Regions from separate parts of the Homo sapiens genome. Here all the other regions are linked to region 4. Evidence: promoter capture Hi-C in 16 types of primary human blood cells and fetal thymus (Javierre and others, 2016). All regions are on one chromosome and are shown on one strand. The core of a region is centred on a gene start or on the middle of the fragment in contact, and the rest is flanking DNA. Distances in the headings are between cores, read along the strand shown. Region 1 has its middle 6.4 kb from the start of FBXO42. Region 2 holds the start of AGMAT (agmatinase (putative)). Region 3 overlaps PLEKHM2 (pleckstrin homology and RUN domain containing M2). Region 4 holds the start of HSPB7 (heat shock protein family B (small) member 7). Region 5 overlaps DDI2 (DDI proteasomal shuttling factor 2).

Evidence for each region. The method cuts DNA at HindIII sites, captures the fragments that hold promoters and counts their contacts. A CHiCAGO score of 5 or more calls a contact.
Region 1: a contact is called between a fragment that was not itself captured here and the fragment with the promoter of HSPB7 in region 4, in 1 of 17 cell types (endothelial precursors). The highest score is 6.1, in endothelial precursors.
Region 2: the fragment with the promoter of AGMAT here is called in contact with the fragment with the promoter of HSPB7 in region 4 in 2 of 17 cell types (erythroblasts and M2 macrophages); the score reaches 7.0 in erythroblasts.
Region 3: a fragment that was not itself captured here is called in contact with the fragment with the promoter of HSPB7 in region 4 in 1 of 17 cell types (erythroblasts); the score reaches 5.3 in erythroblasts.
Region 5: a contact is called between a fragment that was not itself captured here and the fragment with the promoter of HSPB7 in region 4, in 1 of 17 cell types (total B cells). The highest score is 5.4, in total B cells.

Annotation. Positions count from the first base shown.
Region 1 is chr1:16,356,050-16,361,629 of GRCh38, forward strand. No RefSeq gene overlaps it. Among named protein-coding and RNA genes, the nearest start is that of FBXO42, 6.4 kb to the left of the region's middle. RefSeq lists a silencer at 4,414-4,630. The HindIII fragment of the contact is 7,817 bases long and covers 1-5,580 here.
Region 2 is chr1:15,582,761-15,587,916 of GRCh38, forward strand. AGMAT (agmatinase (putative)) reads right to left here and starts at 2,291. Exons shown (of 7, transcript NM_024758.5): 1 at 1,936-2,291; 2 at 433-635. The coding sequence starts at 2,207. RefSeq lists an enhancer at 1,784-1,833 and a silencer at 1,944-2,273. The HindIII fragment of the contact is 7,120 bases long and covers 1-5,156 here.
Region 3 is chr1:15,720,394-15,725,517 of GRCh38, forward strand. PLEKHM2 (pleckstrin homology and RUN domain containing M2) reads left to right here. Exons shown (of 20, transcript NM_015164.4): 7 at 936-995; 8 at 4,924-5,124. Among named protein-coding and RNA genes, the nearest start is that of SLC25A34, 13 kb to the right of the region's middle. RefSeq lists a silencer at 4,135-4,411 and an enhancer at 4,931-5,124. The HindIII fragment of the contact is 477 bases long and covers 1,051-1,527 here.
Region 4 is chr1:16,015,972-16,021,622 of GRCh38, forward strand. It overlaps HSPB7 (heat shock protein family B (small) member 7), which reads right to left and starts at 2,072. Exons shown (of 3, transcript NM_014424.5): 1 at 1,794-2,072; 2 at 1,103-1,236. The coding sequence starts at 1,992. RefSeq lists enhancers at 874-1,620, 1,621-2,365. The HindIII fragment of the contact is 15,911 bases long and covers 1-4,802 here.
Region 5 is chr1:15,630,290-15,635,771 of GRCh38, forward strand. DDI2 (DDI proteasomal shuttling factor 2) reads left to right here. Exons shown (of 10, transcript NM_032341.5): 3 at 36-272; 4 at 3,150-3,276. Among named protein-coding and RNA genes, the nearest start is that of DDI2, 16 kb to the left of the region's middle. The HindIII fragment of the contact is 2,751 bases long and covers 276-3,026 here.

The sequences.
Region 1 (5,580 bases), core at 2,364-4,863, 340 kb after region 4:
GACTGTCTCAAAAAAAAAAAAAAAAAATTACTAGAACTTGTGACCAACTCCACTCTTCCCCCTCCAAATATCCTGTAGAGCTCAATATTGGAAACACTGGACCAGCTATTAAATGCTACTTTTTTTTTTTTTTTGAGGAAGGAAGTTTCCAACCGGGCTCAATCAATTCTTCCACCTCAGCCTCCAGAGTAGCTTGCATAGTCCCAGATACTTGGGAGGCTGAGGTAGGAGGATTGATTGAGCCAGGGTGTTTGAGGTTGCAGTGAGCTATAATCACTCCACTCCAGCCTGGTGTGACAGAGCGAGACTCTGTCTCAAAAAAAAAGTAAAAGTAACAAAAAAAAGTAAAAAAAAAATCCTAGCACTTTCGTAGGCCAAGACAGGTGGATCACTTGAGGTCAGGCGTTCAAGACCAGCCTGGCCAACATGGTAAGACCCCGTCTCTACTAAAAATACAAAAATTAGCCAGGAATGGTGGCATGTGCCTGTAATCCCAGCTACTCGGGAGGCTGAGGCACAAGAATCACTTGAAACTGGAAGGTGGAGGTTGCAGTGAGCTGAGATCATGCCACTGCACTCCAGCGTGGGTGACAGAGTGAGACTCTGTCTCCAAAAAAAAAAAAATAAGTAAAAGTAAAAATGCAGGTTCCATGGCCAGTTGCAGTGTTGCACGCTGGTAATCCCAACCCTTTCAGTGGCTGACATGGGAGGCTGACTTGAGGCCAGGAGTTGAGATCAACCTGAGCGAGATAGCAAGACCCCATCTCTACAAAAATAAATTAAAATGCAGGTTCCAGGGCCCACCTCAAACAATGGCCTCAGACTTTTCTGAAAGCTCCTCAGGGATTCTGTTGAGCAGTCAGGGTTGGAACTGCTGGACCATGTTAGAATACGTTCAAATACAGAATCACTTCACCCTGAATCTTCTTACTCAAGGACAGCAGGGATTTTTGTCTGTTTTCCACCAGCACCTGACATAGAGATGCACATAGTAGGGACTCACTAAATATTTGTTGAATGAATGAACTTGGAATTTGGCAACTAAGAGGGCATTTGGGAAACAAATATTTAGTGAGCACCTACTATGTGCCAGACCATGTGATACGTATGGTCATATATATATACAATATTAATATATATATTTATAAATATATACAAATTTTTTTTTTTTGAGACGGAGTCTCACTGTGTCTCCCAGGCTGGAGTGCAGTGGCATGATCTCGGCTCACTGCAAGCTCCGCCTCTGGGGTTCACGCCATTCTCCTGCCTCAGCCTCCCGAGTAGCTGGGACTACAGGTGCCTGCCACCACGCCCAGCTAATTTTTTGTATTTTTAGTAGAGACATGGTTTAACCGTGTTAGCCAGGATGGTCTCGATCTCCTGACCTCATGATCCACCCACCTTGGCCTCCCAAAGTGCTGGGATTACAGGCATGAGCCACTGCACCTGGCCATAATTTTTTTTTTTTTTTTTTTGAGGCAGAGTCTTGCTTCTGTTGCCTAGGCTAGAGTGCAGTGGCACAATCTCTGCTCACTGCAACCTCCGCTTCCTGGGTTCAAGTGATTCTCGTGCCTCAGCCTCTTGCGTAGCTGGAATTACTGGTGCGTGCCACCATACCCAGCTAATTTTTGTATTTTTAGTAGAGATGGGGTTTTGCCATGTTGCCCTGGCTGGTCTTGAACTCCTGACCTCAGGTGATCCACCCACTTCGGCCTCTCAAAGTGCTGGGATTACAGGCATGAGCCACTGTGCCCGGCCATGGTCATATATATTTTTTAATGAAACATAAGGTCTCTGCCCTTGTGGAGGGCCCTACTATCTACTGAGAGAGATAACCAATACACAAAGACTGTAGACAAGATAGAAGTATAAATTGTGATAAGGACAAAAGTATTAAACTCTAATAATAATCACAATTGCTATTTATTGTTTACATTTATTATGTACCGAACTCTGCTAAGTAGGCGTCATTATTGTGCCTATTTTAAAGATGACGAAACTGAGCTACATAGTGGCTGGAATATCGGGGGAAGACTGGAGATTACATTATAGGTCATGAAGAACTGGGAACGGGGAGGTTATACTCTATAATTAAAATGGTTTTTCAGAATAGTCTCTCTGCAGTGTGAAGGCTGATTGGGACATGATTAAAGACAGGGGATAAGGCTAGAATGAAAGGGGTGGTTGGAGTCTCTCTAATACGTTTAAATAAGGTACTTTCCTCCAGAGTCTGTCCCAATAATCAATCACAGTCACGCACCACATAACAGTGGTCAATGGCAAACCACATGTACAATGGTGGTCACATAAGATTATAATACCATATTTTTACCGTACCTTTTCTATCTATATGTTTTGTTTTGTTTTTCTCAAGACAGAGTCTTGCTCTGTCGCCATGCTGGAGTGCTATGGCGTGATCTCGGCTCACTGCAACCTCCCCCTCCCGGGTTCAAGCGATTCTCCTGCCTCAGCCTCCCAAGTAGCTGGGATTACAGGTGTGTGCCACCACGCCCAGCTAATTTTTTGTATTTTTTGGTTTTTTATTTTATTTATTTATTTATTTATTTATTTATTTATTTATTTATTTATCTGAGACAGAGTCTTGCCCTATCAGCCAGGCTGGAGTGCAATGGCACAATCTCGGCTCACTGCAACCTCTGCCTCCTGGGTTCAAGCGATTCTACTGCCTTAGCCTCCCAAGTAGCTGGGGTTACAGGCACGCATCACCATGCCCAGCTAATGTTTTGTGTCTTTAGTAGAGACAGGGTTTCACCACGTTGGTCAGGCTGATCTCCAACTTCTGACCTCAGGTGATCCACCCGCCTCAGCCTCCCAAAGTGCTGGGATTACAGGCGTGAGCCACTGCGCCCAGCCAATTACTGTATTTTTAGTAGAGACAGGATTTCTCCATGTTGGCCAGGCTGGTCTTGAACTCCTGACCTCAGGTGATCCGCCCACCTTGCCTTGGCCTCCCAAGGTGCTGAAATTGTGCTGGGATTACAGGTGTGAGCCACTGTGTACAGCCCAGAACATAATTTATTCTTTTGTTTTCTTTTTTTTTTTGAGATGGAGTCTCCCTCTGTCGCCCAGGCTGGAGTGCAGTGGCACAATCTCGGCTCACTGCAAGCTCCACCTCCTGGGTTCATGCCATTCTCCTGCCTCAGCCTCCTGAGGGACTACAGGTGCGTGCCACCACGACTGGCTGTTTTTGTATTTTGAGTAGAGATGGGGTTTCACCATGTTAGCCAGGATGGTCTCGATCTCCTGACCTCGTGATCCGCCCGCCTCAGCCTCCCAAAGTGCTAGGATTACAGACATGAGCCACCACGCCCGGCCCAATTTATTGTTTTTTTGAGACAGAGTCTCGCTCTGTCTTTCAGGCTGGAGTGCAGTGGCATGATCTCGGCTCACTGCAACCTCAGCCTCCCAGGTTCCGGCCATTCTCCTACCTCAGCCTCCAAGTAGCTGGGATTTACAGGTATGCGCCACCACGCCTGGCTAATTTTTGTATTTTTAGTAGAGACAGGGTTTCACGGCGTTGGCCAGGCTGGTCTCGAACTCTTGACATCAGGTGATCTGCCTGCCTCGGCCTCCCAGAGTGGTGGGATTAAAGGCATGAGCCACCACACCTGGCCAGAACATAGTTTATTCTTAAAGGGTTGGGGTGCATGACTTAACCCTTGCTTGGTATGACCTTATGTCCTGTTTATAATTGGCATCTTGGTCGCACGCGGTGGCTCACGTCTGTAATCCCAGCATTTTGGGAGGTTGAGGCAGGAGGATCACTAGCTCAGGAGTTTGAGACCAGCATGGCCAACATGGTGAAACCCCATCTCTACTCAAAATACAAAAATTAGCCGGGCGTGGTGTTGCCAGCCTGTAATCCCAACTACTCAGGAGGCTGAGGCAGGAGCATCTCTTGAACCTGGGAAGTGGAGGTTGCAGTGAGCCGAGATCGAGCCACTGCACTCCAGCCTGGGCAACAGAGAGAGACTGTGTCTCAAAAAAAAAAAAAAAAAAGCATCTTATTACCACAAAGCATTTGTTGTGTCAGTCTTATGATCTCTATTTTAGCATTAATGCTGGTCAATTGTTGTGTCTAAACTGTGAAAGGGATAGGGTATAACCAAGTGTGTCTGACTTCCTGTTCCATCATGGCTTCTCTGGGGTCCCCTGTACCAAAAGGGTGTCCATTTAGTCCGTTGGAAGGTTTAGGATTTTATTTTTAGTTCTCATGTGAGATCACTCAGTATCAGTGCATTTAGGACAATATAAATGTTATTAACAGTTGCATTCTATTCTTTTATAGGAATGTACCATAGTCTTTTAAAACAAATTCTCTAGCGATGAACATTTAATTTGTTTCCAGTCTTTTTTGATTATAGACAAAATAGCAATGGATATCCTTAGGTATGCACATTTTCTTTTTGTTTGTTTGTTTGTTTGTTTTGAGACTGAGTCTGGCTCTATCACCCGGGCTGGAGTTCAGTGGCATGATCTCGGCTCACTGCAACCTCTGTCTCCAGGCTTTATGCGATTCTCCTGCCTCGGCCTCCTGTGTACCTGGGATTACAGGTGCGTGCCACCACGCCCAGCTAATTTTTGTATTTTTATTTTTATTTATTTATTTATTTTTGAGATGGTGTTTCGCTCTTGTTGCCCAGGCTGGAGTGCAATGGAGCGATCTTGGCTCACTGCAACCTCCATCTCCAGGGTTCAAGCAATTCTCCTGCCCCAGCCTCCCGAGTAGCTGGGGTTACAGGCGCCTGCTGCCACGCCCAGCTAATTTTATGTATTTTTAGTAGAGATAGGGTTTCACTATGTTGGCCAGGCTGGTCACCAACTCCTGGCCTCAGGCAATCCACCCGCCTTGGCCTCCCAAAGTGCTGGGATTACAGGCATGAGCCACCGTGCCCGGCCTTATTTTTATTTTTTTATTTTTTATTTTTTTTATTTTTATTTTTTGAGATGGAGTCTGTTACCCAGGCTAGCGCAGTGGCTTTATCTTGGCTCACTGCAACCTCCACCTGCCAGGTTCAAGCAGTTCTCCTGCCTCAGCCTCCTGAGTAGCTGGGATTACAGGTGCGCATCACCATGCCCGGCTAACTTTTTGTATTTTTAGTAGAGATGAGGTTTCACCATGCTGGCCAGGCTGATCTTGAACTCCTGACCTCATGATCTGCCTGCCTCAGCCTTCCAAAGTGCTGGGATTACAGACATGAGCCACTGCACCAGACCTAATTTTTGTATTTTTAGTAGGGGTGGGATTTCACCATGTTGGCCAGGCTGGTCTCGAACTCTTGACCTCAGGTGATCCACCTGCCTTGGCCTCCCAAAGTGCCGGGATTACAGGTGTGAGCCACCATGCCCAGCCTGCACATTTTCAATATTGGTAAGTTGCCATTTACTCATCACAACTATCTACCTAGCTTCAGCTTGTGCGTCAGATAGAAAGTTATCTCGGCCGGGCGAGGTGGCTCACGCCTGTAATCCCAGCACTTTGGGAGGCCGAGGCGGGCAGATCACCTGAGGTCGGGAGTTCGAGACCAGCCTGACCAACATGGAGAAACTCCATTTCTA
Region 2 (5,156 bases), core at 1,041-3,540, 430 kb before region 4:
GCCAAGGTGGGCGGATCACTTGAGGTCAGGAGTTCAAGACCAGCCTGGCCAACATGGCAAAACCCCGACTCTACCAAAAATACAAAAATTAGCCAGGCATGGTGGTGGGCGCCTGTAATCCCAGCTACTTGGGAGGCTGAGGCAGGAGAATTGCTTGAACCCAGGAAGTGGAGGTTGCAATGTGCCGAGATTGCACCACTGCACTCCAGTCTGGGTAACAGAGTGAGACTGTCTCACACACACACATACACACACACGTGAAATATTCTCTCCCCAGGGATTAAAATAAATGAATTACAATGCTCTCTTTCCTACTGTCTGCACATTTGCAGTGGCTTGCAGGGGAGAAGTAGCTGTACTCAAGCCCCTGAGTACAGGATAAGTAAACCCTGAGTGCAGGGAACTACTCTGGCTCTTGCAGACTGACATTACCCAAGGTCAGAGGAATACAGCCAGCTGCTACAATTTTCTCATAGGCCTCTTGAATTCGCCGGCAGCTGTCCTGAAGGTTGTAAAGATTGACATTCACATCGCCTAGGTCTGCAACCATGAGGGACTGGAAGGGGAGGGCCCCCGTGCTAGGATTGACTGTCCCAAGCATCACTGATTCTTCCCGGATGCGGCGAGGTCCGAATCTGCAGAAGGAAGAATCATCCTGTCAGCCATCATCTGCAGAGATTTCAGGCTTTGCTTAGGCCAGGGCTTCTCAGCCTCAGCAATTTGGGGCCAGATGATTCCGTGTCGCGGCATTGCATAATGGAATGCTTAGCAGCATCCCGGCCTGTACTCACTAGGTGCCAGTAGCACCCTTCCTCCAAGGTGTAACAACCCAAAACGCCTCCAGATACTGCCAAATGTCCCCGGAGTGCAAAACCGCCCCACTTGAGAATCACCGATCTAGGCTATGTATCGAAGAGACTAAATAAGTGTACTAAATGGCATTAGTGAATTTCATGATCTACCTGAGTCTCAGTTTCCTAATTTGTAAAATATTTACCTTGCACTGTAGTAAAAATTAAATGAGGTAATCTATGCAAAGCACCTTGCACTTAGGAGACATTTAATAAGTGCTGGCTTTCATAATTCAGATCAGTACGGTCAGATATAGTGTTGCTGAGCTGAATCAGAAATTGCTGACGTTCAATAACTAGGAAGATGAATTTTGCTTCCTCCGACTTGATCCTAGGAAAATTGCCTTCATTTGAGCATTTCTTGAGTCAGGTGACATCTTCAGATTTGGGGAAGGGGCAGCCAGTTTCTGCTCTCAAATGCAATGTCACCTGCCACTGTAAGCTGGGGAGAGGAGAGGGGAGGAATCCACAGCAGCCATCCCAGCAAGGCCCCAGGATGGGGACACAGAGAAGGTTCAGGCTCCAGAATCCCTTCTTTTTTCTTTTTTTGAGACGGAGTCTCACTCTGTTGCCCAGGCTGGAGCGCAGTGGCGCAATCTCAGCTCACTGCAACCTCCGTCTCCCGGGTTCAAGCGATTCTCCTGCCTCAGCCTCCCGAGTAGCTGGGATTACAGGCCCGCGCCACCATGCCCGGCTTTTTTTTTCTTTTTTTTGTACCTTTGTAGAGACAGAGTTTCACCATGTTGGTCAGGATGGTCTCGAACTCCTGACCTCGTGATCCGCCCGCCTCAGCCTCCCAAAGTGCTGGGATTACAGGCATGAGCCACCGGGCCGGCCAAAATCCCTTCTTGACCAATGATGACACTAAGATGTGGGAGGCCACGCCCATGTTGAGCCCTGGGGTTTGCTTATTGAGGGTCCAGGTAAATCAACCATCTCAAACCATAAGGGGCATTTTGGAGCCGGCCACCAGCTTCCAACTCGACCCGGGGCCAGCAGGGGCGCCTGTCTCGGTGCTTTCCATGCCCGACAGCCAGCAAGCAGTCCCTCCACGTGTACCCGGCCCCCGTCCTTCCGGCCTTACCTCGCCCCAGGCCGGTTGGAGGTCCCAGTATCCAGGGGCACCCCGATGAAGGCAGCGTCCAGCCCCTCGGGGGAGGTCTGCACCGGCAGGCGCATCATGGAGCAGACGCCCACCGGCCGGGCCACGAACTCGGGGCTGGGGGGCTGGTTCCGGGGCGCGTCGGAAGCCTGGCGGCTCTGGCGGCGCCCCGGATGAAAGAGCCCTGCGGCAGGACGCGCGCCCACGCCGGGCCCCGGGCCCCGGGCGCACCCGGACGCCAGCAGCCTCAGCATTGCCGCGCGCGGCCAAGACCTCACCGACCAAACCGCCCGCGAGGCCGCCGCGATCTGGCTGGTCCCGAACGGCGAGGCGAGTGTGCACGCGCCAGAGCCGGAACCCGAGCCGGCTCAAAGGTCAGGGGCGCCCTAGGATCAAGGCGGGGGAGGGGCCCCAGGACCTGCCGTGCTCTCCCCTCAACCCCTCTGGACTTCAGCCTCTGGCAAATAGAGTCAGGCTGGGGGTGCCCACTGGCCGGCACTGTGCCAGGGGTGTCTGCGCCCTGCTCCCCACTGTGGCCTTCAGCAGCCTCTTCTCCCATTCAGAGTAATTGTTTGTTTTTATAGAGACGGTCTCACTGTGTTGCCCAGACTGGTCTCCAACTTCTGGACTCAAGTGATTCTCCCACCTTGGCCTCCCAAAGTGCTGGGATTACAGGTGTGAGCCACAGCAGCCACCCCAGAGTAATATTTTTAAAGCCAGAAAGATATGAAGGAAAATGATCTTTCTCTAAGCCAGAAAAATAGGAAATGCATTTTTTTAAATAATGTATTTTTAAATGTCCAGGGATAGGAATCTCAAGAAGCAGTAAAGTTAGTTAGCTACTTAGCTAGCTAGCTAGTTATTTTGAGACAGGGTCTTGCTGTGTTGCTCAGGCTGGAGTGCAGTGGCACAATCATAGCTCACTGCAGCCTCAAACTGCTGGGCTCAAGCAATCGTCTCACCTCAGCCTCCCGAGTAGTTGGGACTACAAGCGTGAGCCATCGCGCCTGGCCAGTAAAGTCTTTTTAAATAACCTTGTTAAAAAAGGACTAGAGGCCAGGGGCGGTGGCTCACGCCTGTAATCCCAGCACTTTGGGAGGCTGAGGCGGGCGGATCACGAGGTCAGGAGATCGAGACCATCCTGGCTAACACGGTGAAACCCCATCTCTACTAAAAGTACAAAAATTTAGCCGGGCATGGTGGCAGGTGCCTGTAGTCCCAGCTACTTGGGAGGCTGAGGCAGGAGAATGGCATGAACCCGGGAGGCGGAGCTTGCAGTGAGCTGAGATCAGGCCACTGCACTCCAGCCTGGGCAACAGAGCAAGACTCCGTCTCAAAAATAAATAAATAAATAAATAAATAAATAAATAAATAAATAAAGGACTTACAGGCAAGCTGTAAGGAAGGTCACAGTGCCAGAGAACCTGTTACATCCTCTTTATTTCTAAGGGGAAAGAAAAACACACGTGGAAAGAAAGAAGTGATTTGTAATGGAATTATGTGAGCCATTTAGCAGTATTATATATATTATTTTTTCTGATCTCTAAATGTTGAGATTGAATGGAAAAGGCTCACATTTGCATTTACGTTGCAACCTCTACACAAAGGTTGCACATTAGGCCAGGCGCGGTGGCTCACACCTGTAATCCCAGCACTTTGGGAGGCCGAGGTGGGCGGATCATGAGGTCAGGAGATGAGACCATCTTGGCTAACATGGTGAAACCCCATCTCTACTAAAAATACAAAAAATTAGCCAGGCGTGGTGGTGGGCACCTGTAGTACCAGCTACTCGGGAGCCTGAGGCGGGAGAATGACGTGAACCCGGGAGGGTGGAGTTTGCAGTGAGCCAAGATCGCGCCACTGCACTCCAGCCTGGGCAACACAGCAAGACTCTGTCAAAAAAAAAAAAAAAGGTTGCACATTAAACCCCACACCACTCCAGCCTCCACTCTGGAGTGGAGCCTCCACTCTGCAGGTCGGGACAGAGTTTCCTAATGGTCAATTATCAGTGCTTAGTGTTGGCCTTGGGGCAGGTCCCAGCCATTTTCTGGAACAAATGCAACAATCTCTCAGTTATTTTTTCCTTTTTTTCTCCCTTATGCCACTTAAAGGGTCTCAGTTATTCTCTTGACTCCCAAATTCAACTGCTATTTCTTTCATGTTGCTTGTCCTGAATGTATCATGTTCTTACTCCGGGTTTTTCTTTCATTCAGCTCACAAATATTGAGTGTCCGCTATGTGCCAGGCGTTCCAATGAGGTGTCCCCAACATCCACTACTGCTGAGCACCCTCTCTCCTTGAAACGTTCCTCAGGCGGCCTCTTGACTGGGACTCCCCTGGTCTCCTTCCACCTTCGTGGCTCCTTCTCGGCTGGCAATCCCTTTTAATACGGAGGTGATGACTTTCACCCATAGGCAGGTCAACCACAAGCCCAAATCCCAGCCCTGAGCTCCAGGCGACCAATTTCTAACCCTGACCTGGATGCTTGACAGCACCTGGGGTGGGCTGCAAGTTCAGCCAGCGACTTTCCACCTCCCTGTCTCTGATCCTGCTCTACGCCCCCAAATTTAAGAAGTCCTGATGGTTTCCTGCCCCCAAGCCTTCTGCTCATTTCCTCTGCTGTTACTCTGGTCCAGGCCTTCCCACCCCAGCTTTCCAGCTGATCTCACTCTCACTAGTATCACCATACATATGCCTGCCCGGTAATGCTTCCTGGAGCCAATTCTTCCTGTGTTTCCCCTTCTGCAGCTCCACGGGCTTGTTCCTCCAGCCCATGGTCAGCTGCCTCAGCCCCCACTTTCTTGCCTCCTTTCCTTTGTTCATGCTTTTCTGTCTGCCTGCAGTGCTCCACCCCAGCCCTCAGCTCCACATGTCCAATGTTCAGTAGAAGCCCACCCTCAAAAGACCCTGAACTTTTTTTTTTTTTAAGGGAGATAGAAGTCTCGCTCTGTCATGAAGGCTGTGGTGCTGTGGTACAGTCATAGCTCACTGCAGCCTCCACCCCCTGGGCTTGAGCAATCCTTCTGCCTCAGCCTCCCAAGTAGCTAGGACTACAGGTGCACACAACTATGCCCAGCTAATTTTTGTATTTTTTGTAGAAATAGGGTCTCACTGGGTGCGGTGCCTCATGCCCGTAATCCTAGCACTTTGTGAGACCAAGGCAGGCACATGGCTTGAGTCCAGGAGCTTGAGACCAGCCTGGC
Region 3 (5,124 bases), core at 39-2,538, 300 kb before region 4:
GTGTCCGTCCGATTTCTCTGAGTTCCTTCTGCGCTCGCTGATGTGTTTGGGATGGTCGCACCCTTTGCATCAGGGACCGAGGAAGAAGCTGCAGGTCATTTTGTTGTCTTGACCCAATGATTTACTGGAACAGCCTGGTTTCTTTCAAACCTTAGGCCCTGGTGTTCATGGATAAAACTGGCCATTTTCCCCTCTTTATCTCCTGTAGGAGACCAGAGCCCTTCATTTACTTCACCCCACCACCTCACCTCCAGGGAAGGGGATCCCAGCCCCAATTTAGCCCTGGGGCACCCTAGAATTGCCTCAGCATTGAGACCTTGACCTTCCCCTTTCTTTATTTCTGCTGTACCACGGGTTATATGTCCCAGGAAGGGAGGTCCCTCTCAAACTTGCTGTTAGCAAGACCTGCATTGCTGACCGTGCAAGCTGAAGAAGGCGGCACAGTCTCCTTAGGTTGGGCCCATGGGCCACCTTAGAGGAGTTGGAGGGGTGGGCCTTGCCGGAAGAGCCAGGGCAAGGATGGATCCATGGATGGAGGTGTCCCCTCAGCAATTTGGAGATTGTGCAACTGCAGCTGCCAGGGCAGTGTCTCCTTGCCCTGCTAGGGTATGGAGGGAAGGCACGTAAGAGGTAGAAAACAAAGCTAGGCACAGGCAGCCAGGCTTCTCTCTGCCAGAACCAGCTTCTGGATGTGGAAAGGGGTCACCCTGACAGGTCTTTCCAGCTGGTTGGAGGCTCCTGGGCCAGCGCCTGAGCTGAGAGGCAGTCAGGGCCCTAGTAAGTTTCCCCAAGGTTGTTGGATACAATGTAGAAAGTTGAAGTTTTCCTCTCCTATTTTCTCCCCATGTCTCCCACCCCATTTCCCCTCCCCTCCCTCCAGTCATCCTTCCACTGCCTGTGTTTCTAATCTTCAGTTTTGTCCCTCGTTTTTGTAGATTATGATTTTGGAGATGTGTTTCCAGCAGTGCCGTCTGTACCCAGCACAGACTGGGAAGGTGGGCCAGAGTCCGCTGTTACCCTCTTTTCCTGTTTTGCAATGTTTCCATGCCAAGCTTGCTGCATGTATCAAATCAGCTCCTTATTATTTATAATAATATCCATAATCATAATAAAGCCAAGTTTGGTGTTCTAATAGATGGAATTCTGCAGTGGGAAAACTCAACCTCTAGCCATAGGCAAATCCCTTCTCCCAGTGCAGGGCTCCTGCCTTTGCTCAGTGGCCTTTCGGAGTCACTAAGTGGCTGCATTTCGGGGGATACAGGGTCACCCTTCCTGATTCCAGTGCCAGCTGATGCTCTCGGGGTGTGTAGGGCCTGACCCAGTGAACCAAGACTTGTTCTGGAAAACCATGCCTTTAAACATGCGGGTTGTAAGCTCCTGCGGGTCAGATGAGCATCGAAGAGAAAGAGCTTGATTCTTTCAGTCTGTTCCTAATGGCTTCCTCTTGGGTGTTTTGGAGTGGTTGAGGTCCAAGTCAGGAAACTGCCCAGGTACAGCTGAAACTTCCTACAGACAGAATCTCTTTGAAGCTTTAAAGCAGATTAAAAGGAAATCTGCCAGCCCTCCCACCCTGTCTGCTGGGCAGTAGCAGTGCCTGGGCATTTTTCTGCCTGAAATTCCACTTCATAAATTCACAAAGCTATTCCCAGGTTGCCACGATTACTCAAAGCAAAGGCTATGTTGCCAATAAGGTGAATGTTTCCCCCTTAAATCTGAGGCCATAGCAGATCCCTGTTATTTTACTTTATGTTATTTTATTTTACTTTTTGAGACGGAGTCTCGCTCTGTTGCTCAGGCTGGAGTGCAGTGGTGTGATCTTGGCTTACTGTAACCTCCACCTCCCGGGTTCAAGCAATTCTCCTGCCTCAGCCTCCCAAGTAGCTGGGATTACAGGTGTGTGCCACCACGCCCGGCTAATTTTTGTATTTTTAGTAGAGACAGGGTTTCACCATGTTGGCCAGGCTGGTCTCAAACTCCTGACCTCAGGTGATCCACCCCACCTCATCCTCTCAAAGTGTGGGATTACAGGCATGAACCACTGCACCTGGTCCAAATCCCTGTTATTAAAGAGCCTCCTACCCTCTGGGCCACTTCCAGCCTGGAACAGGGGAGGTGAGGGAACCTGGCCTCTGAACAGGGGAGGTGAGAACTGCCACACCCTGAGGATGAGGGGCACGTGGCTCTCCCCGCATTATTAGAGACGTGATTGCTGAGTAATGGGTGACAGGTGATCCGTTCCCAGATAATGTGAGTATGAAATACCTTAACTCTGTGAGAAATAAGATGTGGCATTGGGAAAAATAAACTATGACACTTGGCCAAGAGTAGCATTGAAGGGTCCCCTGTTTGAGTTAAATTAGCTTGGATTCCAGAATTCCATCATAACATCATGTACCCTCTTAGCCCCTCTTCTTGCAGCACACATGCTGGATATTGTTTTTTTTTCCCTCCGATTCTAACAACTAACCCCCCTCCTGACACGCCTGCTGCAGTCACTTGACAAGCAGGGCCTGACCTTCCTCTACAGCCTTTCAGAGCTCCCTGCGGCCTGAGAACTAACAGCCCAGTTGCACTGCTTGCCTCAGGGCAGGGTGAGATTTCTGGAGTTCCTGGAGCAGGATTCCTGAGCTCACTCTGGCAGCTCACCCGGGGAGGCTCTGTCTTCTCCTTGGACCTGGAGGAAGGCAGGACTTGGGGCAGCTCCAAACTCTGAGCCTGGGGTGGCCTTCCCCTGGTCTTTGGCTTATTTACAGAGCTGGTGGGCATGCGGGCCTTGACACCCACCACATCTCATGATCTGCCCACTCACCTCTCAGGGCTCCTCTTGGGTGCAACTGCGTGTGCTGAGGAGAATCACAGGAGCCGGAGCAAGAACACATGGGCTTGGCAGGAGCCTGCTTTGGGACCGAGAGACGCGGTTTTCTGTATCTTAGAACTTAGGCTCTGAGATCCCCGGAAATCTGGAAAAAGTCCCCGATGTTGCTGGTCTTTTCTGGCAGAGCTACTCATTGCCTTTAGCCTCCTCTTTTGTCCTTATATTAAAAGACAGCAGACTTAAAAAAAAAAAAAAAGGGCCAGGCTCACACCTGTAATCCCAGCACTTTGAGAGGCTGAGGCTGGAGGATCGCCTGAGCCCAGGAGTTTGAGACCAACCTGGGCAACACAGGGGGACCCCGTCTCTACTAAAAATATAAAAATTAGCCAGGCTTGGTGGTGCACGCCTATAGTCCCAGCTACTCTGTGGGCTGAGGCAGGGCAGGAGGATCACTTGAACCCAGGAGGTCGAGGCTACAGTGAGCTGTGATTGCGCCACTGCGCTCCAGTCCGAGCGACACAGCGAGACCCTGTCTCAAAAAAAAAAAAAAAAAAAAAAAAAGGACGGTGTGCTGCATCAGCAGACAGCTGCCCTGTGGCTTCCAAGGGCACTAAGTTGACAGCTGGTTGGGCCCCCAGTGGGGCTGTGGGGTGCATGTTTGCCTCTTTTCTTCCGGGCAGACAGCGGCCAGCAAGATGAGCATTGGCCGGCAAATAGAGCACGACCAGCCATGGCCCTTGCCATTGACCCTCACCCAGGCAGTTTCACCAGCTGGGCCTCAGCTCTCTGCTTGGGTGGCTCCCATCTGCCACTGGCCGTATGGGCTGTGTGCTTCACCTGCCCGTGCTCCCTCTCCTGCCCTGTTCCAGTAACCAGGGGCAGATGGCTGGGTGGGGCGGGATGTCCAAGCCAGCTCCCCTCTCGGGGGCCGTGTCAGGGTATGAGTCAGAAAGGACCAGTCAGTGAGCTGACACTTGAATGAAATGGAGTTCTCGGCCGGGCACGGTGGCTCACGCCTGTAATCCCAGCATTTTGGGAGGCCGAGGCGGGCAGATCACGAGGTCAGGAGATCGAGACCATCCTGGCCAACATGGTGAAACCCCAGCTCTACTAAAAATACAAAAATTAGCTGGGCATGGTGGCGCATGCCTGTAATCCTAGCTACTCGGGAGGCTAAGGCAGGAGAATCACTTGAACCCGGGAGTTGGAGGTTGTAGTGAGCCGGGCTCGCGCCACTGCGCTTCAGCCTGGCGACAGAGAGAGACTCCGTCTCAAAAAAAAAAAAAAAGAAAGAAATGGAGTTCTCAGCACCACCCTTGCAGGGGCACCTGGTCCTGCCCCCGAGGAGTGTGTAGGGTCAGGGGTGCTGGGGAGAAGCAGCCTGGGGGGCGGCCTCTCGGACCCCTGTCTTTGCCCCTTCGCACCTTGCTCTCATTGCCCTGCTCTGTCATCTTGTCTCTACTCTGTGCTCTGGGCATTTCCCTCTGCCCCATGGTTCCCACCCCTTGGGCTCCCATCCTGTCTCCTAGCCTCTGCCCCCACTCTGCACCCCTCACTTTCTCTGCTGTCTTCCTCCATTCTTCTCCCTTTGTGTTCCTTTTACCTCTGCAAGGGACCCTTCAGAGGACTTTGGGCACCTCTCAGCCCTACAAGTGGGGTATGGGGCTAACGGGGCTGCTGGGTACCCCTGTAGCGTCCTGGCAGGAAGGCTCTGAGGGTAACCTAAGAGGCGTGCAGCCTGGCTCCTCTCTAGGGCTCCCAGCCACCCATGGAGGCCTCGAAGTCACCATTCCTATGGGACTTAAGCCTGGAGCTTGAGCCTGGAGGCTGCTTCACCGCGGGGGCCCTTAACACAAACTCAGCCAAATTGTTGTGAGCTCCGGAGGCCCCAGGGGTGGTGGAGATGGTGTTCCTTCCAAGTTGCTCCTAAAGTACAAAACCCCATGTCCTGTTAGGTTGTGGCTTCTACTCGAAATGGGGCCACCCCTGTCAGGTTTCCCTGGGAGGAACTGGCCAGCCTGCCTCCCTCCTGGGCTAACGCATGCTCTGGGGGTCGGGGACCCCGGGGGGTGCCTGACAGGGTGTCTCCTGCTTCCTTGTCCTCCCAGATGGAGACCTCACAGACACGGTCAGTGGTCCCCGCTCCACAGCCTCCGACCTGACCAGCAGCAAGGCCTCCACCAGGAGCCCCACCCAGCGCCAGAACCCCTTCAACGAGGAGCCGGCAGAGACTGTGTCCTCCTCTGACACCACCCCCGTGCACACCACCTCTCAGGAGAAGGAGGAGGCCCAGGCCCTGGACCCGCCGG
Region 4 (5,651 bases), core at 822-3,321:
CTCCAAGGAACAGGCCAGGGACATGGGGAAGAGGTGGGGCTTGGAGAGAGAGGAGGCTCCGTGGCAGTGGCTCCGAATCTGGGGCTCCTGGGGAACGTGGAGGTGACAGAGGAGAGCCGTGCCTTCCTGGATCCCCGGGCACATTGGGCATCTGCCCGCCAGGGCTGAGCGCCGGCCCCTCCCCCGCAACTCAGCCAGCACATAGTGTCCAGGGGAGTTTGGGGCGGCTGAGTCACTGTTGGGGGTGGCAGGGCTGGCACATGCTGCCTGTGGGTTTTGGTGCCCCCAGTCCATGGCATCCCTGGCAGGGACGCCCAGAAATCCACCCTTGAATGTGGAGGGGAAGAAGCCAGTCCTTGGGGGCTTAGGAGGAGGCTTGGGTCAGGTCCTCTCCTCTCTCCTGGCAGCCGTGGCTGTCCCTGGGCAACGCCCCTGTTCAGGCCTGGCCATACCCTCTCCAGGGTGGAGGCCCCAGTGCCTCCTAGAAGTTCGGACTCAGACACGCTAGAGACCCAGTGACCCTGAGACCTGTGGGCGGGCGCTGTGTGTGGTTTGGAGTGTGTGTGACCCGAAACTGCAGGGCCCCTGCCCAGCCTCGGGCCTAATTTAGGGGTCCCAAGATGGGGGATGGGTCTCCAGCTGTGGGAGGGAAGAGGGCTTGAGGTGGGTCACATGGAGAAACCCCTCCCCCCACTGCCCAGGTGAGTTCCCCACCTACCCGCATCCGCCCCCCTATAGCTACCAGAGGAGCTGTCCTCACTCTGCCATCACCATCTCACACCTGTCATCTCCCACCCTCAAGCCCCACCCCCTCAGGCTCCCTCTGCCCACATCCCTCCATCCCTCTCCCATTCCTCGGAGGCTCCCTCAGCTGCTCAGGCCCTGGAAGAAAGGATCTGGGAACCTCGGTGCAAAGAGAGGCAGTGAGGGGGCCCCATGGCCATGGGTTGCAGGGACAAGGCCTTCAGTTAGCCCTGGGGGAGTTTGGGTGGGGAAGGGACACTGGCCAGGGTCTGGGGTCCCAGGATGGTAAGGGGGAGTAGGAGACATTGGAGGCAGGAGCAGAATTTGGGATGCGGTGAGTAGGGGGTGGGGGGCTCACCTTCTCAGCCCGCACCTCGATGTGGTTGTTGGAGGTGGTGACAATGATGTCTTCAGGTGAGAAGTCTCTCACGTCCACCGCAAACTCATAGGCGTCTCCTAGGGTCTTGATGTTGCCTGCCCCACCGGGGCGGGCTGTGGGATGGGCTGCTGTGAGCGAGGCATGGAGCAGGCCTTGCATGCAGATCCGGGGGTTCTGGCTCCTTCTCTTGGGGCAAGGGGCGGCTCCCCCAGGCCCTACCTCCCCCCTAGCTGTTTCTCCCTAAGCTCCTCCTCATTCCTACAGCCCACCTTTTCTGGGGTGGGGGTGGGGCCTCACCCAGCACAGTGTGTGTGTATATGAGGCTAGGTCTGTAACAACCCCACCCCAGGCCTGGAGCCTGGGGGCTGCCCCCCACCGCTCACCCATCCAGCCCTCCAGGGCTCCAGCTGGGATTGGCTGTGGTTACAGAGCATGGGTGGCCATGGAACCATGTCCAACCCCCAGGGCCACAACTGTTCCTTAGAGGCCCACCTGTTTTCATGGCCACATCTGTCCCTGTGGCCACATCTGTCTTGGTGGCCACACATGGCTGCAGGCTGTGCAGCACCTGTTCCAGGCCGACCGGCAGCCACAGCGCCTTCGGTGGCGCCCTGGAGCAGACGTCCCCTCCCTGTGCACCTCCCCTCCCCTCAGGGCCCGGATCACTTGCCTGGGAAGGCCAGGGGCTCCGAGTGGGGCCGCATGAAGCTGCCAAAGTCATCGGAAAACATGCTCAGGGCCTTCTCCATGGGCGGGTCCTGGGCCGGGAGAGCACGGGAGGCCGAGGAGGAGGTGGAAGAGGAGGAGGAAGAGGAAGAGGAATGGAAACTTCTCTCCGCTCGGAAGGTGGAAGAGGTTCTGTGGCTCATCCACGGACGGCGCCGGGCCCTGCCCAGGCGGGCGAGGGCTGGACAGGAGAGGGTGTGGGCGCAGGCCTCTGGGCGAGCGTGCCAGGCTCCGACTGCGGCCGCTTTATAAGGCCGACTGTCCCTGGGCTTGGGGCCAGCCCCTTGTCTACTAGCTAAATTTAGGCCTCTCCATGGCCCAGAGGGGGCTGGAAATCTTCTCCCGTGCGCCGGCCCTGCTGACAGCCCGACACGCAGGCCGAGAGGGCTGAGCTCACAGCCTGACATTCCAGGCTGATCACAGCAGCCCCAGGGGCCTCCTCACCACTGCACAGGGCTGGATCCTGTCTCCTTGCCACTCGGACCTCGGTGCCTGCCCCAGAACCTTGCAAGTTTGGGGTTTATTGTGTGTTTTGTTTCCCCCGTCAGCCTGGGGGCTCCTGAGGACTGTGCCTCCCCTCCAGACTCTGGTTCTCCTCCACGGCTGTACCTCCTCCATCAGTGTGCAGGCTCCTTGGGGACAGGGTAGGTGGAAGCACCACCGCTCTGTGACGTCAGGAGCTCCTTCCCTCAAGGCAGACAACCTTCACAGCCCATCTCTAAGGAAAGGTTGAGCCCTGCCAGGGGGTGTAAAATGTGCAGCTGTCCCCTGCCAGCCCCCATGGGGACCTGGATTCTGTGCCTGCACTCCCTCTGACTCTCAGAACATTCAGCAGCCCCAAGAGGACAAAGTTGGCAGCTTTCTCCTTAAAGGTCTAGAAGGTTGTGTTCCCGGCAACTGTCTGCTCCATCTCTGTGTCAGAGGTGATGCCTGCGAGCGCCTTAGGTGGGATTTCAGTCAGAGGTAAAAGAGAATTCCGGAAGACAATTATTCTAGCCCTGAGTTCTAGAATGCCTTCTGGGCATGGGCTCCTGGCTGCAAGCTGTCCAGCACGGCCCCGTTTGATCCCCACACAGCTGGGAGGGTGGAGGGGCTCTTCCCATGTTACGGACGGGGAAGCGAAGCCTCTTGGAAAGGGCGGGGCTCGCAGTTGCGTAAGTGGCAGAGCTGGGATTCGAACCTAGATGTGTTGGACCCAAAGCCCTTCAGAGGCCGAGGTGGTTTGAACATGTGCCTATGGAGACAGGCTGGCCCGGAAGAGCCAGAGAAGCCCCTCCCTACCCACCTGCTTGCTCAGCAAAGCTGGGACTGACCTTGCCCTGGGCCAGGGTGGAGGCCATTCTGAGAGGCGGCCAGGCCCTCTGCTCTGCCCAGGTTGCAGTTAAGGGCCTCTGCTGTCCTCTCCAAATCCGTCCCTTCCGTCCCAGATCAGCTCCAATGCCTCCTCCCCCAGGGAGGCCTCTCTGACTGCTCCTGCTCACATGGGCCCACACCCAGTCCAGATGCCCCCAGCACTGACTGTCTTTGTCCTCCCACAGCACCTGGCAGTGTGACATAGTCTTCCTGTGTGCTGTGACTCTCTGCTGTGTCCCTTCTTCCCTATCCAACTGGCAGTTCCCACGGGGGCGAGGGTTCACCTGTCTCCCCATTAGATTGAAGGTTCTTGAAGACGGGCAGTTTCTCTTTTGTCTGAGCCCCCTACAACCCAGTCTGGAGCTTCATCCTGGAGAGCTCCTTCTACAGGGGTATTAGCGGTGCTGGTGGTATGTGGAGTGGAAGCAGAGCAGGGCACAGGGCACAGCGGCGGGCCAGGCTGTTGCCTGGAGCAACAGGGCCTGTTGCCTCTGGCAGAGTTTCCTGCCCGTGTCGGGGCCTGTGACACCCAGCCTGGCTGAGGGGTTTCTAGGGCAGCTGGGAAGCCACCAGCACTGAGGTGAGATGGAGAGAGGGTGGGGCGGGGTGGGGGGCCCAGAGCCTGCCGCTCGCCAGGGAAACAGGAGCCGGTGGCTAAATGCAGACACACTGTCATGGTGCTGAGGGCCTGAGTCACTGCCCCTGGATGTCAGATCCCGTTACCCACCCCCGCCCACCATTCCTCCTCCCCTTTTTCCCCCTTCCCGAGGCATCACCCACACAAATACTGGATCCTCTGGCTTCACTGACCCAGAGGGACCTCAAAAGGTCATCAAGGACATTCCCCTGCCTCTACCTTCAGATCACAGAGACAGAAGGAGCTACAAAGATGATGCAGTCCTTTGAATCCCAGTCACCCAGGAGAGCTTTTCACAAACACAGACCCTTTCCTTGGACCCCAGGATTTTGATTTGGGATCTGGGGAAGGGACCTCACATCTCTTCCCATCAGCTCCCCACACAGCCAGCTCATAGGCCAGTGATGAAGCCCTCATCACTCAGTAGGTATTCATTGAAACCTTGCTATAAATAGGTGCTGGGCACTGTTCTAGGCTCTGAAGGACTCAGAGATGAATAAGGCAGAGACAGGCCCCTGCTTCCAGGCTCACCTCATCATACAGAAGAGGAAACTGAGGCTCTAGTTGATGAAAGAGTTAGGGTCAGCAGAGCTGTGCTGGCTTCAAACCGGTCATCCTGCTGAGCCACCCTGGCTGCCCTCTTCTCAGCCTCCTGGTGCACACAGGGCTGGGGGGTGAGGGTAGATGTGGACGTGCAGTGCTGGCTGTGGGACAGTAGCCAGCAGCTGCCCCAGACCAGACACTGGAAATCGGGATGTTGACAGGGCAGCCAGTTCTGGTGCTGTGCAGAGTCAACAGGTCGGGGTGGCCAAGGTGAAGGTGGGCTCGAGTCCATACAGAGCGGCAACTCCCATCCCACCTCCCACAACACACATCTTTGATTTTGATTTGACTTGCCTGGCATCTAGGGGCAAAGGGTGGCCCAGGGTCCCAGATTTTAACAATCATCCAAGGGCTATCATAAGCTTCAGAGGGTGGCTTTGTCTGGGTGGGAGTGGAGGCAATTGTCCCCAACCTCTTGCCCAAAAGTGGCATCAGACACAACTCTTCTGTTCTGTGCCCAAACCATTGCCCTGGTTCAGCCTCAGGAGCTGGAGGAGCTTTGGGCAGGGGAAGAGCTGCACAGTGTGGGGCTGGGTTCAGCCTCTGCTGTGTGACCTTGGATGAGTGACTCACCTCTCTGACCATCTACAAAATGGCGAGGCTCTCCCCATTCACAGGGTGTGGGAAGGAGGACTTGAGCTGCAGATGTGACGCTCCTGACACGTCGCAGGCACACGGCAGGTGCTTGTTCCTCGCCATGTCCCCTCACACCTGTGCTGCCATCCTCTGTTGGGGTGGGACAAACTCTGTGGAATTACCCAGAAGTCCCCACCAGAGCCGCTGGCCCTTGGACGTGTGCTTTGAGAAGCATTTCCTGAGCCTGGAGGGTCTGGACACAGGATCAAGTCCGAGTTCCTGACCCCAATTCACTGCCTTGCCCCAGGTGTCGGCCTCCTCGCCAGCCCTGGACAAGATGGGTCATCAGGATGGGACCGTGTGGCACAGCCTGCGGGCTTTGGAGCCAGGCAAACCTGGGCTGGGAATCCTGGCTCTGCCTCGGCCTCCGTGATCTTAGACAGGCAGCCCCAGCTCCCTGAGACACCATTTCTCTACAACGGGATCACGCTGCCTGCCTCGTGGGATTTCCGTGGGCACTCAGGGTAATTAATCTGGGAGAAGGCTGACTCTCTACCTGACACACAGGGAGGCTGTGGTCATGCTGGCCCCACTCACCATTGCCCCCCTGCCTTCTCCTTCCCTTCCCAGCCT
Region 5 (5,482 bases), core at 401-2,900, 390 kb before region 4:
TAATTTGAGTAAACTGAATTGATTTTCCCCAACAGACTTACCCCGAATAGATTTCAGTAGTATAGCTGTGCCTGGCACATCAAGTCCCCGGCAGCGCCAGCCACCAGGAACACAGCAGTCCCACTCATCTCCTGGAGAAATAACTTCATCTCCTCAGGGCTTGGACAATCCAGCCTTGCTCCGAGATATGTTGCTGGCCAACCCGCATGAGCTGTCCTTGCTGAAGGAACGCAATCCACCCCTGGCAGAAGCTCTGCTCAGTGGAGACCTTGGTAAGCTTATAAATTTGGAAGGCTATTAGGCTGGCCTGAGGTGAAGAAGCTGTGTCATAGCAAATGTGAAGAGACTCAAGCGACACTGTGTCACATGATTTATTGAACATACCAGTTTTTTCTCTGTGAGAGGTAAATTAGTGCTAAAGTCAAAGGCTGAGTTACTTGGAAACAGCAATAGAGTTTTAGCAGTGAAATCCATCTAGGCCACCCCCCTTGGTTTACTTTTTGTTTTCCTCATTGTTTTTGGCAGCAGATAACCTAGGTACTGATTTTTGTTTGTTTCTTTGTTTTTTCTTTGAGACGGAGTCTTGCTCTTTCGCCCAGGCTGGAGTGTAGTGGTGCAATCTTGGCTCACTGCCAGCTCCGCCTCCCGGGTTCATGCCATTCTCCTGCCTCAGCCTCCCAAGTAGCTGGGACTACAGGCGCATGCTGCCACACCTGGCTAATTTTTTGTATTTTTATTAGAGACGGGGTTTCACCGTGTTAGCCAGGATGGTCTCGATCTCCTGACCTCGTGATCCGCCTGCCTCGGCCTCCCAAAGTGCTGGGATTACAGGTGTGAGCCACCATGCCCAGCCAGTACCGATATTTTAACCTTAGTTAGATCTTCAATTAAAGAGATCATCAACAAGCCAGCTGATGCCAGCTGATGCCAGGAAGGTTCAGTGCCCTGTATGGCAAAATGGAATCACCATAACCTCAGTCCACTCCAAGTTATTTTTTGTATTTTTTGTAGAGATGGAGTTTTGCCATGTTGTCCAGGCTGCTTTCGAATTCTTGGGCTCAAGCAGTCTGCCTGCCTTGGCCTCCCAAAGTGCTGGGATTACAGGCATGAGCAGTTGCACCCAGCTAACTTGTAGCCATCTTTATGAATCGAGTTTTCTCTGTAAATTACTCTCATTTTACTCTTGGGTTTATGAGTTAAATTGGGTTAAGTCTAAAAACATAACAGACACTTAATGACTCATTCCTCAATTGACTGTCTTTAAATTGGCAATCTTTACCTTAAGCGAAGTACTCAGATTTTAAATATACAATTCCTTGAGTTTTGACAAACTCCTGTAACCCCAATCAAGACACAGGACATTTCTCTCACTCCAGAAAGTTCCACTGTGTTGCTTTCTAGTCAATCTCCTCTCCTTATAGGTTACTACTGTTTTGATAATCTTATGGTTTAGTTTCCCGTATTTTTAAACTTCATGTATATGGAATAATAGAGTGTCTGCTCTTTCGTGTTAGGCTTTGTTTTTTTTTTTCTTGAGACGGAGTTTCACTCTGTCTCCCAGGCTGGAGTGCAGTGGCGCGATCTCTGCTCACTGCAACCTTCGCCTCCTGGGTTCAAGCGATTCTCCCGCCTCAGTGTCCCAAGTAGCTGGGACTACAGGCGTGCACCACCACACCCGGCTAATTTTTGTATTATTAGTAGAGATTGGGTTTCACCATGTTGGCCAGGCTGGTCTCAAACTCCTGACCTCGTGATCCACCCGTCTCGGCTTCCCAAAGTACTGAGATTACAGGCGTGAGCCACCACTCCCAGCTCGTGTTAGGCTTTTCACTCAACTTAATGCTTTTTAGATCCATCTGTATTGTGTGCATTAGTAGTTCAGATAACCATTGTCATAATATCTTTTAATCTCTTATATCAGCATATCTAATCACCAAAGATGGTGATGATGGGGCATTTAAGTTTGCACACTTAAATGTACCACCATTTAAGAAATTGCAAAATAGGCCGGGCACGGTGGATCACCTGAGGTCAGGAGTTCAAGACCAGCCTGGCCAACATGGTGAAACCCAGTCTCTACTAATAATACAAAAATTAGCTGGACGTGGTGGCAGGTACCTGTAATCCCAGCTACTTGGGAGGCTGAGGCAGGAGAATCACTTGAACCTGGGAGGTGGAGGTTGTAGTGAGCCAAGATTGCGCCATTGCTCCCCAGCCTGGGCAACAAGAGCGAAACTCCATCTCAAAAAAAAAGAAATTGCAAAATAGGTTCTTGTTGTAACATACATCTTATAGCAAGCAGTGTTTTCTCTACTAATTTTCCTGCCTATTAATTCATCAGAACACACACAAAATATAGGTAGACTAAAAATAGTTTATACTTAATGTATCTGGCTTAAGGCAGGGCATGTTATAAAAGAAATGAAACTAGAAGAGGAAAAGGAGATTATATAATGCTGTATTTTGTTTCTAGGTAGTAGGATAATGAGAACAATGAGGAATGGAGGAGTGGAGACATTGATCTGCCACATGGTCACTCCCCACCATTTTAAATTGGAAAGTTGTTACCTCTGAGTAGAAACAATATGATAGATAACTTCTTATAAAAAATTTTTGCAAATACTTTTTTTTTTTTTTTTTTTAAAAAAAAAAAAACAGGGTCTCACCATGTCACCCAGGCTGGAGTGTGTGGTGCGATCACAGCTCACTGCATCCTCGACCTCCTGGGCTCAGGCCATCCCCCCACCCTTGAACCCCCATCCAACAGTAGCTGGGACTACAGGCATGCACCACCACGCCCAACTAATTTTTATATTTTTTGTAGAGACAAGGTCTTGCTATGTTGCCCAGGCTGGTCTCGAACTCCTAGGCTCAAACGGTCCTCCCACCTCAGCCTCCCAAAGTGTCGAGATTATAGGCATGAGCTACCACACCCAGCCACAAATACTTTCTTTACACTGAATTTAAATGATGAAATAGCCTTGACTCAGAGAACAGAAAGTAAATGTAATTGCTCATTTTAAATAAGCTTTAGGCATCCTCTCTGCATCTCTTACAGATGTAGTTTGATAAATTGTTTGGTGTGGAAAAGTACTGATAAACGTTGAAAATATAGTGATATTTAAGATTTTTCTCCCTTATTTTTGTAGAGAAATTTTCTAGAGTCCTGGTGGAGCAGCAGCAGGACCGAGCCCGGAGAGAGCAAGAAAGGATTCGTCTGTTTTCTGCTGATCCCTTTGACCTTGAAGCTCAGGCAAAGATAGAAGAAGATATAAGGTAAAGACCTGTTCATCTAAAGAACAAAACTTAGAGACTCCAGATTTCCCAGACTGCAGGTTATCTGACATTGGTTGGGCATCTGCTTGGAGGTAGCTTCTCTGTTTTGCAGTTGAGATAGTAACCTCAGTCTTTTAGGTTAGTCTCTCCTCTTTCATTTTCTATGCATTTCGATTTGACATGACAAAGATATAGGTGCTTAGTTTAATGACTTTCTTTCTAAAATTTTAAGGAGGACTCCCTGACTAGCAGACAGAGCATCATAACACAGCTTTAGATAAATGACCCCCGGACTGAGCAGAAGCCACCATCTGGTGAGACCACAAGGCTGGTTGCATATTACATGGGCTGATTTGACTCTCTTTCTTTAGACATATTGTATAAGTCCTGATTAAATCCAGGGCTTAAACATGATTGGATTAGAGAGGGCTCTGCGCCGATGGAACGTTGGTAGTCCTAAGTCTGTTTTCCTGCTGCATTTCTTGTACTGGCCTCAGTGGATAAACTGAATGCTGGACATGTTTCCAGCTCTCAGTTTCTGTAATGCGGTGGTTCTCACCTGGGGCTATAGTAAAATCACATGAGAAACTTTTAAAAATGCAGATGCTTGGACTCTTCTCCCAAATCTGATGAATCAGAATTGTCGGGCATGGAGCTCAAGCAAGGACAGTGACGCTGTTCCGGCCTCAGTCACACTGATAGTCACAAGCAAGATTCTGTTCAGTCATTCTCTGAAAAAAAGGACAGCTGCTTTTCCTGCCTCAAGTCAGTTTTTGTTGCTAATTGTGAAGAACTTAGTATAACTAAGAAGAAGATAACAGCAACGATACTTACTACACTTAGACTGCTTGGCCTTTTAGGGACCGTGTCATCATTCCGGTTACTTAAATGAAGCCTAACTTGGTCATTGTATTACACTATCTATCAACTTAGAAATTAAATCATGCTTTTTTAAACTTCTTATTCTTTTTATCTTTTTTTTTTTGAGACAAGGTCTCACTCTGTCACCCAGGCTAGAGTGCAGTGGCACAATCACAGCTCATTGCAGCCTGGACCTCCCCGAGACTGAGGTGTTCTCACCTTAGCCTCCCGAATAGCTGGGAATACAGGCATCTGTCACCACGCCCAGCTAATTTTTTCATTTTTTGTAGAGACAGGATTTCACTGTGTTGCCCAGGCTGGTCTTGAACTCCTGAGCTCACGCAATCCACGCGCCTCAGCCTCCCAAAGTGCTAGGATTATAGGGATGAGCCACTGCACTTAGCCCGTCCTTCTTCTCAATTGATCTTCCTTCTGACCTCAATTGATCTCCTACCTCAGCCACTCAAAGTGCTGGGATTACAAGTGTGAACACCATGTCCTGCCTCTTACTCTTCTTACTACATTTGAAATCAGAAATACAGGCTAGTCCTGGTGGCTCATGCCTGTAATCCCAACACTTTGCTTGAAGCCAGGAGTTTGAGGCCAGCCTGGGCAGCAAAGTGAGACTCTGTCTTTACAAAAAATAAAATAAATTAGCCAGGTGTGGTGGCATGCACCTGCAGTCCCAGCTACTCAGGAGGCTGAGGCAGGAAGATCACTTGAGCCCAGTAGTTGGAGGCTGCAGTAAGCTATGATTGTACCACTGCATTCCAACCTGGGCAAGAGAGTGAGACCCCCATCTTAGGAAAAAAAAAAAAAGAAATATAATTGTACACTAGAATTAATTGACAGCCCTAAGTCATTACGAAATTCCATCTCAAAAAAATAAATAAGAATAGAAGTGAAATAGAGAGTGTCCATAAGGCTCATGTTTCTTTCTAGGGCTTGAATGAAGGAAATAGGGTGACACATCTATTCTCTTCCCCACCCCAGGCCCAAGACGGAGTCTTGCTCTGTCGCCCAGGCCTGAGTTCAGTGGCACGATCTCGGCTCATTGCAGCCTCCGCCTCCCAAGTTCAAGCGATTCTCCTGCCTCAGCCTTCTGAGTAGCTGGGATTACAGGCATGTACCACCACGCCCGGCTATTTTGGTATTTTTAGTAAAGATGGGGTTTCACCATCTTGGCCAGGCTGGTCTCAAACTCCTGACCTCAGGTGATCCACCCTCCTCATCCTCCCAAAGGGCTGGGATTACAGGTGTGAGCCACTGCGCCTGGCCACATCCATTCTTTGAAAGGTGAAAACCTTGTACCTCTGAAGAGACTCTCTACATATGGACCCCAGAA